Regions from separate parts of the Homo sapiens genome. Here regions 1, 2 and 4 are each linked to region 3. Evidence: promoter capture Hi-C in 16 types of primary human blood cells and fetal thymus (Javierre and others, 2016). All regions are on one chromosome and are shown on one strand. Each heading gives the region's core, a stretch centred on a gene start or on the middle of the fragment in contact. The rest is flanking DNA. Distances are from core to core; before and after follow the strand shown. Region 1 has its middle 14 kb from the start of LINC02601. Region 2 overlaps NYX (nyctalopin). Region 3 holds the start of GPR82 (G protein-coupled receptor 82). Region 4 overlaps DDX3X (DEAD-box helicase 3 X-linked).

Evidence for each region. Contacts are between HindIII fragments. The CHiCAGO score rates a contact against its expected background, and 5 or more counts as called.
Region 1: a contact is called between a fragment that was not itself captured here and the fragment with the promoter of GPR82 in region 3, in 1 of 17 cell types (neutrophils). The highest score is 6.8, in neutrophils.
Region 2: a fragment that was not itself captured here is called in contact with the fragment with the promoter of GPR82 in region 3 in 1 of 17 cell types (neutrophils); the score reaches 7.7 in neutrophils.
Region 4: a fragment that was not itself captured here is called in contact with the fragment with the promoter of GPR82 in region 3 in 1 of 17 cell types (neutrophils); the score reaches 5.7 in neutrophils.

The regions. Positions count from the first base shown.
Region 1 is chrX:41,259,954-41,263,681 of GRCh38, forward strand. No RefSeq gene overlaps it. Among named protein-coding and RNA genes, the nearest start is that of LINC02601, 14 kb to the right of the region's middle. The HindIII fragment of the contact is 4,129 bases long and covers 1-3,330 here.
Region 2 is chrX:41,465,142-41,468,518 of GRCh38, forward strand. All of the region lies in intron 2 of NYX (nyctalopin), which reads left to right. Among named protein-coding and RNA genes, the nearest start is that of NYX, 19 kb to the left of the region's middle. The HindIII fragment of the contact is 3,447 bases long and covers 1-3,025 here.
Region 3 is chrX:41,722,510-41,725,700 of GRCh38, forward strand. GPR82 (G protein-coupled receptor 82) reads left to right here and starts at 1,672. Exons shown (of 3, transcript NM_080817.5): 1 at 1,672-1,780. All of the region lies in intron 5 of CASK (calcium/calmodulin dependent serine protein kinase), which reads right to left. The HindIII fragment of the contact is 20,979 bases long and covers 1-3,191 here.
Region 4 is chrX:41,337,611-41,340,110 of GRCh38, forward strand. DDX3X (DEAD-box helicase 3 X-linked) reads left to right here. Exons shown (of 17, transcript NM_001356.5): 3 at 1,426-1,473. Among named protein-coding and RNA genes, the nearest start is that of DDX3X, 4.7 kb to the left of the region's middle. The HindIII fragment of the contact is 3,587 bases long and covers 1-2,500 here.

The DNA of each region.
Region 1 (3,728 bases), core at 16-2,515, 460 kb before region 3:
ACCCTGCATTGAGAAGGAGTGGGGGCACAGGAAGGGTAATTATTGTAAATAATGCATTGTAAATATTGTATTTTTTCTTTAAAAAGATTTTTTTTTTTTGAGACGAAGTCTTTCTGTCACCAGGCTGGAGTGCAGTGGCACAATCTTGGCTCACTGCAACCTCCGCCTCCTGGCTTCAAGCAATTCTCCTGCCTCAGCCTCCTGAGTAGCTGGGACTACAGGCGCATGCCACCATGCCCAGCTAATTTTTGTATTTTTAGTAGAGATGGGGTTTTACCATGTTGGCCAGGATGGTCTCGATCTCTTGACCTCATGATCTAACCACCTCGGCCTCCCAAAGTGCTGGGATTACAGGTGTGAGCCACCATGCCCGGCCTTAAAAAGATTTTCTTGTGATAAAATATACATAAAATTTGCCATTGTAACCATTTTTATGTATACAGTTCAGTGGCGTTAAGTACATTTTTAATGCCACTGAACTGTATCTAGCACACGATCATGGTTCACTGCAGCTTCAACCTCCTGGACTCAAGCAAATCCTCCCACCTCAGCCTCCCAAGTAGCTGGGACTACAAGCTAACACCACCATTACCGACGAATTTTTGTATTTTTTGTAGAGACAAGGTCTCCCTATGTTGCCCAGGCTGGTCTCGAACTCCTTGGCTCAAGCAATCCTCCCACCTTAGCCTCCCAAAGTGCTGGGATTATAAGCATGAGCCACTGTGCTCAGCTGCGGATGAGTTCTTGTTCACCTTCCTACAAGGCGCCATGTTTTCATCCCTCTGGAACCTCCCCATGCCCCATCTTCTTGGCCTTTTATGGAGACTTCATTGGATAGGCATGAAGCATGGACATCCATTTAGAAATGTGATTGGGCCGGGCATGGTGGCTCACGCCTGTAATCCTAGCACTTTGGGAGGCTGAAGCGGGTGGATCACCCGAGGTCAGGGATTCAAGACCAGCCTGGTCAACATGGTGAAACCCTGTCTCTACTAAAAATACAAAATTAGTCGGGCTTAGTGGCGTGTGCCTGTAATCCTAGCTACTCGGGAGGCTGAGGCAGGAGAATCACTTGAACCCAGGAGGCGGAGTTTGCCGTGAGCTGAGATCACTCCATTGCACTCCAGCCTGGGCGACAGAGCGAGACTCCGTCTCAAAAAAAAAAAAAAAAAAAAAGAAATGTGATTGGACAAAAAGGATATGATCTAAGCCTAGCAAGGCCTGTCTGTTCAGATTCTTCTTGGCCTCTCTGTGTGGCATTCCCTCCTCCCGGATATGGGGCGGGATCTCTTCTGAAATGGAGGTCTTATAACCTATGCTGAAGTCAAATAAAATATACAGATAAATCTGAAATTAAAACGTTTTATTTGGGAAGAAAGAATTGCAATTCAGAGCATATATGCAGACTGTCCGGTCTTCGGTATGTCTGAAGAACAAAGAGAAGGTTAGAGGTTTTATAGAAAGGGGAAATGTTTCATATTGCTCTTTGAGGAAGCTCATTGGCACTAGTAAGGTTTCAGAGAGCTGGCAAGCAAGCTCTGATTGGAGAGTGTTGGCAGTGGGTAGAACTAGTCTTAGAGTTGCAGCAGTTTGCTTCAGAAGCCATGAGATAAAACTGGTTTCAAGGCCAGGCATGGTGGCTTACACCTGTAATCTCAGCACTTTGGGAGGCTGAGGTGGGCGAATCACTTAAGGTCAGGGGTTCGAGACCATCCTGGCCAACATGGTGAAACCCTGTCACTACTAAAAGTACAAAAATTAGCCAGCCGTGGTGGCAGGCACCTGTAATCCCAGCTACTCGGGAGTCTGAGGCAGGAGAATAGCTTGAACCCAGGAGGTGGGGATTGCAGTGAGCCGAGATCAGGCCACTGCACTCCAGCCTGGGCGACAAAGTGAAACTCCATCTCAAAACAAAACGAAACAAAAAACAAAACAAAAAACTGGTTTCAGGTCATAGCAGGCAGTTTCAGCAGCCAGGCTTGCAGAGAATTACATTTTTGGAGCAATGTTATGTGCCCTGCCTGCTTCCCCCTGACCTCCTGACTCTGTTTCAGTTGGGTATGTCAAGAATGACCCAATTCGTATGATCTTTTCTTCTCTCCTTTCTTTTCTTTTCTTTTCTTTCTTTCTCTCTTTCTTTCTTCCTTCCTTTCTTTTCTTTCTCTCTTTTTCCTTCCTTTCCTTTCTCCTTTCCTTTCCTTACTCCTTTCCTTTCTCCTTTCCTTTCCTTTCTCCTTTCCTTTCCTTTCTCCTTTCCTTTCTCCTTTCCTTTCCCTTTCCCTTTCCTTTCCCTTCCTTTTCCCTTCCCTTCCCTTCCCTTCCCCTCCGCTCCCTTCCCCTTCCTTTTCCCTTCCCTTCCCTCCCCTCCCCTCCCCTCCCTTCCCTTTCTGTGTGTCTTGCTCTATTACCCAGGCTGGAAGACAGTGGTGCAATCATGGCTCACTGCAGCCTCCACCTCCTGAGCTCAAGCAATTCTTGGCCTCCCAAGTATCTAGGACTACAGGCACATGCCACCATGCCCAGCTATTTTTTTGTATTTTTTATAGAGGTGGGGTTTCACCTTGTTGCCCAGGCTGGTCTCAAATTCCTGGCCTTGAGTGATCCCTCAGCCTCTCAAAGTGCTGGGATTACAAGCATGAGCTACCACACCCAGCTGAAGTATGATCAACTTTTACACCTACAATCACACAAGATAGGCCAGATAATTTCTTTTTTTTTTCTTTTTTGAGACAGAATCTTGCTCTGTCACCAGGCTGGAGAGCCGTGGTGCGATCTCGGCTCACTGCAATCTCCGCCTCCTGAGTTCAAGCAATTCCCCTGCCTCAGCCTCCTGAGTAGCTGGGACTACAGGTGTGCACCACCACGCCCAGCTAATTTTTTGTATTTTAGTAGGGACGGGGTTTCACCATGTTGGCCAGGATGGTCTCAATCTCCTGACCTTGTGATCCACCCACCTCGGCCTCCCAAAGTGCTGGGATTACAGGGGTGAGCCACCTCACCTGGCCAGAGAATTTCTTTATAGCCAGCTCCAAGACAGGTAATTTATAAAGAAAAGAGGTTTATTTGGCTCAAGGCAGGAGAATATTAGAGTATATTTTAGTTTCTAAGGTACTATGGTTTGGATACTTAATCCCTCCAAATTTCACGTGGAAATGTGGCCCCCAGTATTGGAGGTGGGGCCTGGTGGGAGGTGTTTGGGTCATGGGGGTGGATCCCTCGTGAATGGCTTGGTGTTGTCCTCGCTGTAATGAGTGCTCTCTCTCTCTTGCTTCCTGTCTCTCCATGTGATCTGCACATGCCATATCCCCTTCCCCTTCCGCCACGATTAGAAGCTTCCTGAGGCCTCACCAGAAGCAGATACTGGAGCCATGCTTCTTGCATAGCCTACAGAACCGTGAGCCAAATAAACCTCTTTTCTTTATAAACTACCCAGCTTCAGGAATCCCTTTACGGCAATGCAAAAGAACTAAGATATACAGGCTGCCTTGGAGAGAAAAAGGAGCAGGTGAAAGGAGGGCAGGAGAAGCTCAGAGAGAGAGAGATTCTGTTTTCTGAGGCCTAAAGCACCCCAATGTTATGACAAGAGAATGTCTTTCACCTTTATGGCTCTGAAGGCTGTTCTGAAGCTGCTTCAGGAACTAAGGACAAAAGGCCAAATGTTATTTATTTATGTATTTATTTATTTTTTATTTTTTATTTCTTTTAAGATGAAGTCTCACTCTGTCTCC
Region 2 (3,377 bases), core at 52-2,551, 260 kb before region 3:
CTTTGCTTGGTAATTCCAACATGTGGGCTGTCTGAATCTGCTTCTGCTGTTTTTTTTTTCCTTCTTGACAAGTGTCATGTTTGCTGCTTCTTCACATGTCTACTAGTATTTGGTTGTACACTGGATACTGCGGAGCCAGTGGTAGAAACTCTGGATTCTCTTGTCTTCTGTTGAAGAGTGTAGAATTTTGTTCTGGCATTCAGTTAAATTACTGGCAGATCACCTTGTTCCCTGAAAGCCTTGGTTTTAGGCTTTTTAAGGGTAGGACTACTTGAGTTTTGCCTTTAGTCCTGGGAAATGGTCTTCACTCCTGAGGCATGGTCCTTTGGGGTTTCAGTGGAAAGCTCAAGGTATTTGACAAGCTCCTCTAACTTGGCAGACCTTGAACTCTTTTTTTTTTTTTTTTAAGATAGAGCCTTGCTCTGTTGCCCAGGCTGGAGTGCAGTGGCATGATCTCAGCTCACTGCAACCTCCACCTGTAGTCCCAGCTACCTGCCCCCCGAGTAGCTGGGACTACAGGTGCCTGTCACCACACCCAGCTATTTTTTTTTTTTTTTTGTATTTTTAGTAAAGATGAGGTTTTACCATGTTGGCTGGTCTCGAACTCCTGACCTCAAGTGATCTGCCTGCCTCGCCTTCCCAAAGTGCTGGGATTACAGGCGTGAACCACCACGCCCAGCTGGGACCTTGAACTCTTAAACTGCCTCCTGTCACTGGGCAATTGCTAAAATCTCTGTTTAGGTCTTTTGGTGTTTAGTTCTTGCTTTCCCCTTGGGCTCCCTGGAGTCATCCCACACATATGCCCTTCAGAACTCAGCCAAGGACATAAGGGGAACCTGTATACTAACTTTGTGGCTCCTCTTTTGAGGCTCCCTTTTTCCATGTTTTCCCTCCTCAATTTCCAGCCACTGTGGCAGCTATAAATGCTGACCTCTAAGCTGTCAGCTTGCTTTCTGCTTTAGCTTCACTCACCATGTGCTGTGTGGACTTGAAATTGCCCTGAGAGAGCCGGGCCCAGAGGCTCACGCCTGTGATCCCAGCACTTTGGGAGGCCGAGGCAGGAGGATCTCTTGAGGTCAGGAGTTCAAGACCAGCCTCGGCAACATAGTGATACCTTGTCTACATAAAATTAGCTGGGCATGGTGGTACATACTTGTAGTCCCAGCTACTTGGGAGGCTGAGGTGGGAGGATTACCCAAGCCCAGGGAGGTCAAGACTGTGGTGAACCGAGATTGCACCACCGCACTCCAGCCTGGGCAACGGAGAGAAGAGACCCTGTCTAAAAAAATAAAAAATAAAAAAAAAATCCTGAGAGGAAAAATCAGTTAGATGCACATCTCACCTAGTTTGTGTCTCTTCTTTGAAGGGTTGCATCGACTCTGATTGCCTGTTTTGGTTGTTCCCTGGTGCTTTAAAACAATTTTTTTTTTTTTTTGAGACAGAGTTTCGCTCTTGTAGCCCAGGCTGGAGTGTAATGGCGTGAACCTGGCTCACTGCAACCTCTGCCTCCCAGGTTCAAGCAATTTTCCTGCCTCAGCCTCTCGAGTAGCTGGGATTACAGGTGCCCGCCACCATGCCTGGCTAATTTTTTTTTTTTTTTGTAGTTTTAGTAGAGACAGGGTTTCGCCATGTTGGCCAGACTGGTCTTTTTTTTTTTTTTTTTTTTTTTTTGAGATGAATTTTCGCTCTTGTTGCCCAGGCTGGAGTGCAATGGTGTGATCTTGGCTCACTGCAACCTCCGCCTCACGAGTTCAAGAGATTTGCTTGCTTCAGCCTCCTAAGTAGCTGGGATTACAGGTGCCTGCCACCATGCCAGGCTAATTTTTGTTTGTTTGTAGTTTTAGTAGAGGCAGGGTTTCGCCATGTTGGCCAGACTGGTCTCGAACTCCTGACCTCCGGTGATCCACCCACCTCGGCCTCCCAAAGTGCTGGGATTACAGGTGTGAGCCACCACGCCCAGCTAAAACAATTTTTTTAAAAAAATTTTGTCCAGAGTCTACCATAGATAGCAGTGGGAATGTTAGTCTGATAGAAGCTACTCTGCCATGATTGCAGTAGAACTCATCCACATATATTATTATTAAAAGAATTTTTTTTTGGTGCCTTGCTTTTCTGGCTCACTAAACATGTACTTAGTCTTTATACTGAACAAACCAATACAGTTTTGCTGTCAGTTCTGAGAATTTACTTGACTTAATTTATTATTATTATTATTTATTATTTATTATTTTAGATGGAGTCTCACTGTGTCACTCAGGCTGGAGTACAGTGGCATGATCTTGGCTCACTGCAACCTCTGCCTCCCGGGTTCAAGCGATTCTTGTGCGTCAGCCTCCTGAGTAGCTGGGATTACAGGCGTGTGCCACTGCGTCTGGCTAATTTTTGTATTTTTAGTAGAGACGGGGTTTCACCATGTTGGCCAGGCTGGTCTCGAACTCCTGACCTCAGGTGATCTGTCTGCCTCTGCCTCCCAAAGTGCTGGAATTACAGTCATGAGCCACCGCGCCTGGAGACTTAATTTATTATTTTTTGGGAGGACAAGGTCTTGCTCTGTTGTCCAGGCTGGAGTTCAGTGGTCCAATCATAGCTCACTGTAATCTTGAACTCCTGGGCTCAAGTAATCTTCCTGCCTCAGCCTCCTGAGTAGCTGGGACTACAGGTGCACACCACTGTGCATGGCTAATTTTTTTATTTTTTATAGAGATAGGGGTCTCACTATATTGCCCAGGCTGGTCTGAAACTCCTGGGCTCAAGCGATCCTCCTGCCATAGCCTCACAAAGTGCTGGGATTACAGGTGTGAGCCACTGTACCCGGCCTTGACTTAATTTAAATGTCACTAAATAATCCAGTAAATTAGTTATTGCTCCTAATGGCTATCAAAGTTTCAGAGGCTAAAAATAAGTCTCTAATAGTGACAATTTCTTGAGTGTTTAATTAAAGTTTAAACTCTAATCTATTTTTTGAAATAGGTAACATAGCCACATGGTTCAAAATGTTAAAGGCTAAAAGCAGTGTACATTGAGAAGCTTCAGTCTCACTCTTCTCATATATGTTTTTTAAACATAGGCAGCTACCTTTCTGATCTCTTGCATTATACAAATTGGTTGTATCCTGACTGTTGTAATCCCAGGAGTTCCTTGACAAATAATTTTTTTTTTTTTTTTTTTGAGACAGAGTCTCGCTCTGTTGCCTGGGCTGGAGTGCAGTAGTGTGATCTCAGCTCACTGCAACCTCTGCCTCCCTGGTTCAAGTGATTCTTATGCCTCAGCCTCCAGAGTAGCTGGGACTACAGGCACGCGCCACCACACCTGGCTAATTTTTGTATTTTTAGTAGAGATGGGGTTTCACCATGTTGGCCAGGCTGGTCTTGAACTTC
Region 3 (3,191 bases), core at 422-2,921:
TCACCTTTAAAATGAGACATTTCACAGGGTGTTGTGAAAACCAAATAAGACTTGGATGTAAGGCACATAGCGAGATATCTGGCACATAGTAAGCTCTCATGAAATGTGGCTAATGAATGATGGTAGTGATAGTAGAAGCTGTAGTACCAGCAATTGATTAGATGTGAGATGTGAAAGAAAGAGGAATTAAGGATGATTCGTAAGTTTTTGGCTTGAATAACTGAAGGAGTGATGGTATCATTTACTGAGTTTGGAGACAATGGAGGAAAACAAGAGCGTTCTTTTTTCGGACCAAAGACGCTTATGCCTGAACAGATAATATTACAACTATCTTTCAATCACTTAGAAATAGCATTCCATTTCTGTTCTTCTCTAAATTAATTAAAACTGTTTTTTGTTCTATGTAATTCCTTCCTGGAACATGATACATTACTGAAGTAAAAGTGATGGGAATTCTAAAAGCCAAACTACTCTGTAATGAACGGCCATGTAACCCTGGATGAGTCACTGTTCTTAAGTAAATGGTGGCAAGGCAAAGATGAACAGCAGCAGAACACAATCTGGACACTTTAGGCAGTTCTCACTTTTGTTTTGGAGAGAAATATTAGCAAACATCATAGAGAATTTATGAAATAAACATGAAATAAGGTAAGCATTGCGGGTTTATGAGAAATGGCAAGGTACTTCTGTAAATTTTAAGTGAAGATTTACTGATAACTAAAATGCTCAGGTTTGATGAAATTAGATTTCTGTTCTCTTTTTCAGACTCCCACTGGTTTAACTACTCAAGGATGAGAGGGAGTGCTTGATGCAAGTCTTCCTCCCCAGATGTACACACTTAGCTTTCATTTAGTTAGTAGGTCACAGACTGATTCGACAATCCTGAACAAAAAAATTGGTTTCACAATTCTATTTTTTATTTTTAAAATTTTTATTGTTTTAGACTAGTCATGGTTTCACAATTCTTTATAACTATTCATTTGATCTGAGGCATACTTGGCACTTCCCAGGATTTGCCAAATCCATTATGAAATGCCCCAAACAGTGTATTATGTTGACAAATGGAGATAGTGCAGGGCAATTAGAAACAGAGTGGGTTAACTCATTAGTAACCAAACTGGGACCCAACCCTGGGTGCAGTCTGTGCTTACAGTGAGTTCCTCTGGGCCTCAGCTTCTTCAACTTTAAAACAAAGGGTCTCAGTCCACAGATGATCATGAAGTTCTATTTTAGCTCTATAATATTTGATTCTAGTAAGTTATAAGAAAACTTTGAGTTTTGTTTCTATTTTTGATAAAGATGGATTGCAAATAAGCCATCCACAAACAATTTTACAAACGAGTTTGCACCAATATTTGTATTGGGTTACTACAGAGTGGCTCCTTCTATCACTGTGTCATATAAAACTGGCCATGGGGGATTAAACCTGTGAACTTAACTTCAGTCAATCGTGCAAACAAAGGTTACTGGAGTGTAACTAGTTCATGAAATAATCATAAGGAAGTATAATATGTATATTGTTCACCACTTCCTCCCACTACAGAAATAGAGAAATGAGGGTTTTTTGAGGAGGCAGTTGCCACATTGACCATAACTATTGAATTTCTTCAATATTCTGTTTAATTTCCCCTTTTCCTCCCACTGTAGTTGGTGTCATGCAAGAATCTATTCACACTGACTAAAGATATTGGAAGAGTGAAGATCAGAGAATTTTAAGTCTGAAATTTGGCATCACTGCCCTGAACAATATAACCTTAGTTGGCATAAACTACTCATACAGGTAAGAGTGATTATTATTCATTTTTAGCTTAAAAATTAAACTCTATAAAAATAAACAGGACCTAATGGTTTAAATTTTGAAAGCTGATCATTAAGAAAGGCAGTCAGCATATTAACTATGTAGACAGTCATTAGTAACTGAAGTTAAGAGTTGTAGAACTTTTTTCATTTGTCAAATTAGCAGAGACAAAATGTATGCATGAGTGACTTGAGATAGACATTCTCCTGAGGGGAATATAGACTTAGAGACATTTTCTGGAGACCAGTTTTGCATCTGTAACATGTAATTTTTATTTGATTTCTTAATAGTACTTTCCAAATTCTGGAAAATAGTTATCTAGTAGTTTTATGATCCAAGTTTATTTTTGAAGGAGATGTACATAGTAGATACAAGTTTGGGAAGGTAAAGATGGTGACCTAGTTGTTGACTGCTACACTGAGAGTCCTACAGAGACTCAACTTCTGTCTGATAAAGCTAGCCTCTGCAGAAGTCTATGTCCCTTTTGTTTGGAAGCATTTAATATTCATACAGAAGCACCATTACCTTTGCAGTTTTTAGTATACTATGCATTATCTGCACAAGGTAGGAGCTACTGCTTTTCTTTAACAGCATCATAAAAGGAAGCTCCAATCCTTATGTAAAATCAAAACCTACTGTGAGCAGATAATTTTTTCTTAAATAAACTGGCTCATTTCACTGTCTGACTGATTTTTGAACTGGTGAAGTTACAGATTAGGTTTTATATATTTATACCAGGGTCTACACTAACTGAAACCAGATTATAATTCATCAGGTTGCACTAGATTCAGATACAAACTTACAATGAAGCATATGGACTGTTTTCTAAATAAAAATAGCAAAGAAATAAAATTATAAAGACAGTGGTAAACATTAATTAAGAATCTTGTTATTTAAACCCACAGACACTGCACAGTCCTCAAGTTTTCAAGACTTTGGGTGTGGATTGGTTTAAAAAGTTATTATAAAATTATAATATCATATTTGAAAAAAAACCCCAATTTCTGTAATCCAAGATGCAGAAAATAAATCAAACCATAATTCTGAAGGGGGTAGAGAGTAAAATTGCCCTGAGGGGCTGGGGGGATATAAGAATTTCAAAGGGTTGTGTATGGTACAGTTTTTATGTTTATCAAAAGAGAACATGATTAAAAAGAAGATTGAGAAACCTTGCTCTAGATCATGAAAGAGTGGAGAATGTGGTGCTCAGAAGGCTATGGTGAAGAACACAGAGAATATGGCACATTCTGAATAGAGATCATGGTTCTTATTTGACCAGAATCCAGTAACTTTTGTTATTCTCACCTGAAAGAAGTGAGGAAATAAGGAGAAAAATAAGAATAAAAGCAGTTTGTATATGATTCTTCAGCACTTCATGTGTACCCTTTGAAGC
Region 4 (2,500 bases), core at 1-2,500, 390 kb before region 3:
GTACTTAGTGATCAATCTAAAGCATCGTTGCCTTTTTTTTTTTTTTTTGGTTGAGATGGAGCTTTGCTCTTGTTGCCCAGGTTGGAGTGCAATGGTGTGATCTCGGCTCACCGCAGTCTCTGCCTCCGGGTTCAAGCGATTCTCCTGCCTCAGCCTCCCGAATAGCTGTGCCTTTCTGATAATAAAACATCAATGACTAGCTGGCTCTCTTGAGTAAAAGCAGCTAATCATTGGAAAGAACCTTATTATATCAAATTATCTCTAGAAGAGTTTTTGTCCATTATAAATCCTGAGCCCAGTTTAGAGGTGATGGGAATGTGTCCCTGTTAACTGACTATATTTATTAAATTGAATTAAGGGAATATGCATTTCATTGGTTATAGCTACTCCTTTCTCCTGAAGAACAGAAGACTATACTGAATTTTGGATTGGTGGTTAGGTTAGGTTTTCAAATGTGTCATTTCTTTTAAAAAGGCATTAGAAAAGTTGCTTTTTTTCTTCTAAGGGGGGTTATTTAGAGACTTGTTAGAGGTTAGTGTTAAGATAGGGGATCTTGGTGGTTTATTATAAGGGCAATAGACCCTTATTTTTAGCTCAGATCTCTTCCTACTTATTAAAACAAAAGTGAGTATGGGCTATGATGTGTCCTCATTTTTAGGCAAGAACAGCTTCACTGGGAACAAAACTTGGTGTTTGCTTTAACTTTCACCTTATTTGTCATGCTAAGAATCTTTTAGGAACTGATTGTCCTAGTAGAGATTTTTAAAAATATTTAATTCAGTCTAGAAGTGAAAAAGAAAAATGACACGTTTACTAGTTATAAAGCAAATTTATTTGGCTTTATGTTGTTTTTTTTGCTTATCCATATTCTAGGCTGTACTCCTGCTCGCATACAGAGCAACTGTCAACTTTCCTTAAACTCAGCAAGCCCCAAATTAAAACCTGCAATTCCTTGAAATTAACTCCCCTTTGCAGCTTTTCCTTGTTTATTTATTGTATGTTTTGCAACTTACTGGCATAGAAACAAAAGATTGTGAGATATGTTACATGAGTAATCTTAAATTGTTACAGTAATACTTAATGCTTTTGTTGACAGTTTTGATGACAGTTCTCTTAAATCTAGCAGGCCTTTAAAAAAATCACATTAAATGACCACTGGTGGCTAAATGTGCTCAATTTGTGGATTTCAACTATTAGGTTCCAAATCAGCTTTTTTTTATCAAACTCCTTTCAGAGTTCTCCTTATGAAGCAGTAACCCATTTAAAATTAGATTCTTATTTTTCCCCCCTCTCAGTGTCCAGGTAAGTAATCAGATTGGAAGGCTGGAGATTTTAATTTCCCAGAACCATTTTTTAGTAACAGAAATTTAAATGGGAAGGTTTTTTGGCATTTAATTAATTTTATATATATATATATTTTTTTAGAAGGGCGCTATATTCCTCCTCATTTAAGGAACCGAGAAGCTACTAAAGGTAGGTCCTCACAAGTAACTTCGTAGGTCTATTTTTTGCCTCCTTTAGAAGTTAGTAAAGCCTAAGGAAAACCAGGCATTTGGGGGAGGTCTAAACATGGTGTTGTTTTTCTATGCTTCTGTCAGCCTTGGTTCAAATACTAGAGCTTAATAATTTTGGAAGAACTCATCTAATGTTACGCAGTGGGAAATTCGGCATTCCTATGTCAAACTGTTCTGACGCCAAGGGCATGGTTTTGTACAGTTTCACTAGTGTTGTGCTGAATCTGTTTGTAATCATTCACAGCATGGTTTTAGTTTGGAAGAGGTGGGTGCCCTACTGTGTAAACCAAGCTGTATAATGATAACAACCTGGTTATTTCTGTCTTGGCAAAGTTGCTAGAAATGAAGATGGGCTTATTGTAGAACAGTTAACAAGTTACAGCGTTGGAAGTGATTCTCTGGTTTCATCTCCTTGCCTTGCTGCTTTTGAAAGGTTTTGTCCAAAATGTATTACAATATCTGGTGTCTTTTCCCATTGTAATTGTAACGTAGTGATAGATGACAGCTAGTATATGTTTCATATTATGAGACAGCTGTTCGGGTGCTTTATATTCTGTAAAATAGACCATCCAAAATTTGGAGGAAAAGGGAAAGTCAGGAAAACCAAAGATTAGGAGGGAAGATACTGTATAAAGAAGGCAGATAGGAAGAGTGGAGAGTCCACAGGGGAGCACATGGTTTGCTGCTGTTCCTCCATCTCCATATGTAGTCTGTATTACCTTCACTGTCCTGGCAATGCATGGATATAAAATCTGTATTATTTCTACCAGAAGATCACTTTGGCTTTTTTTTTTTTTTTTTTTTTTTGAGACGGAGCCTTGCTCTGCTGCGGAGGCTGGAGTGCAGTAGCGCGGGCTCACTGCAACCTCCGCCTCCTGGGTTCAAGTGATTCTCCTGCCTCAGCCTCCCAAGTAGCTGGGATCACAGGCATGTGCCACCATGCCCGGCTAATTTTTGTATATTTAGTAGAGACGGGGTTTTGCCTT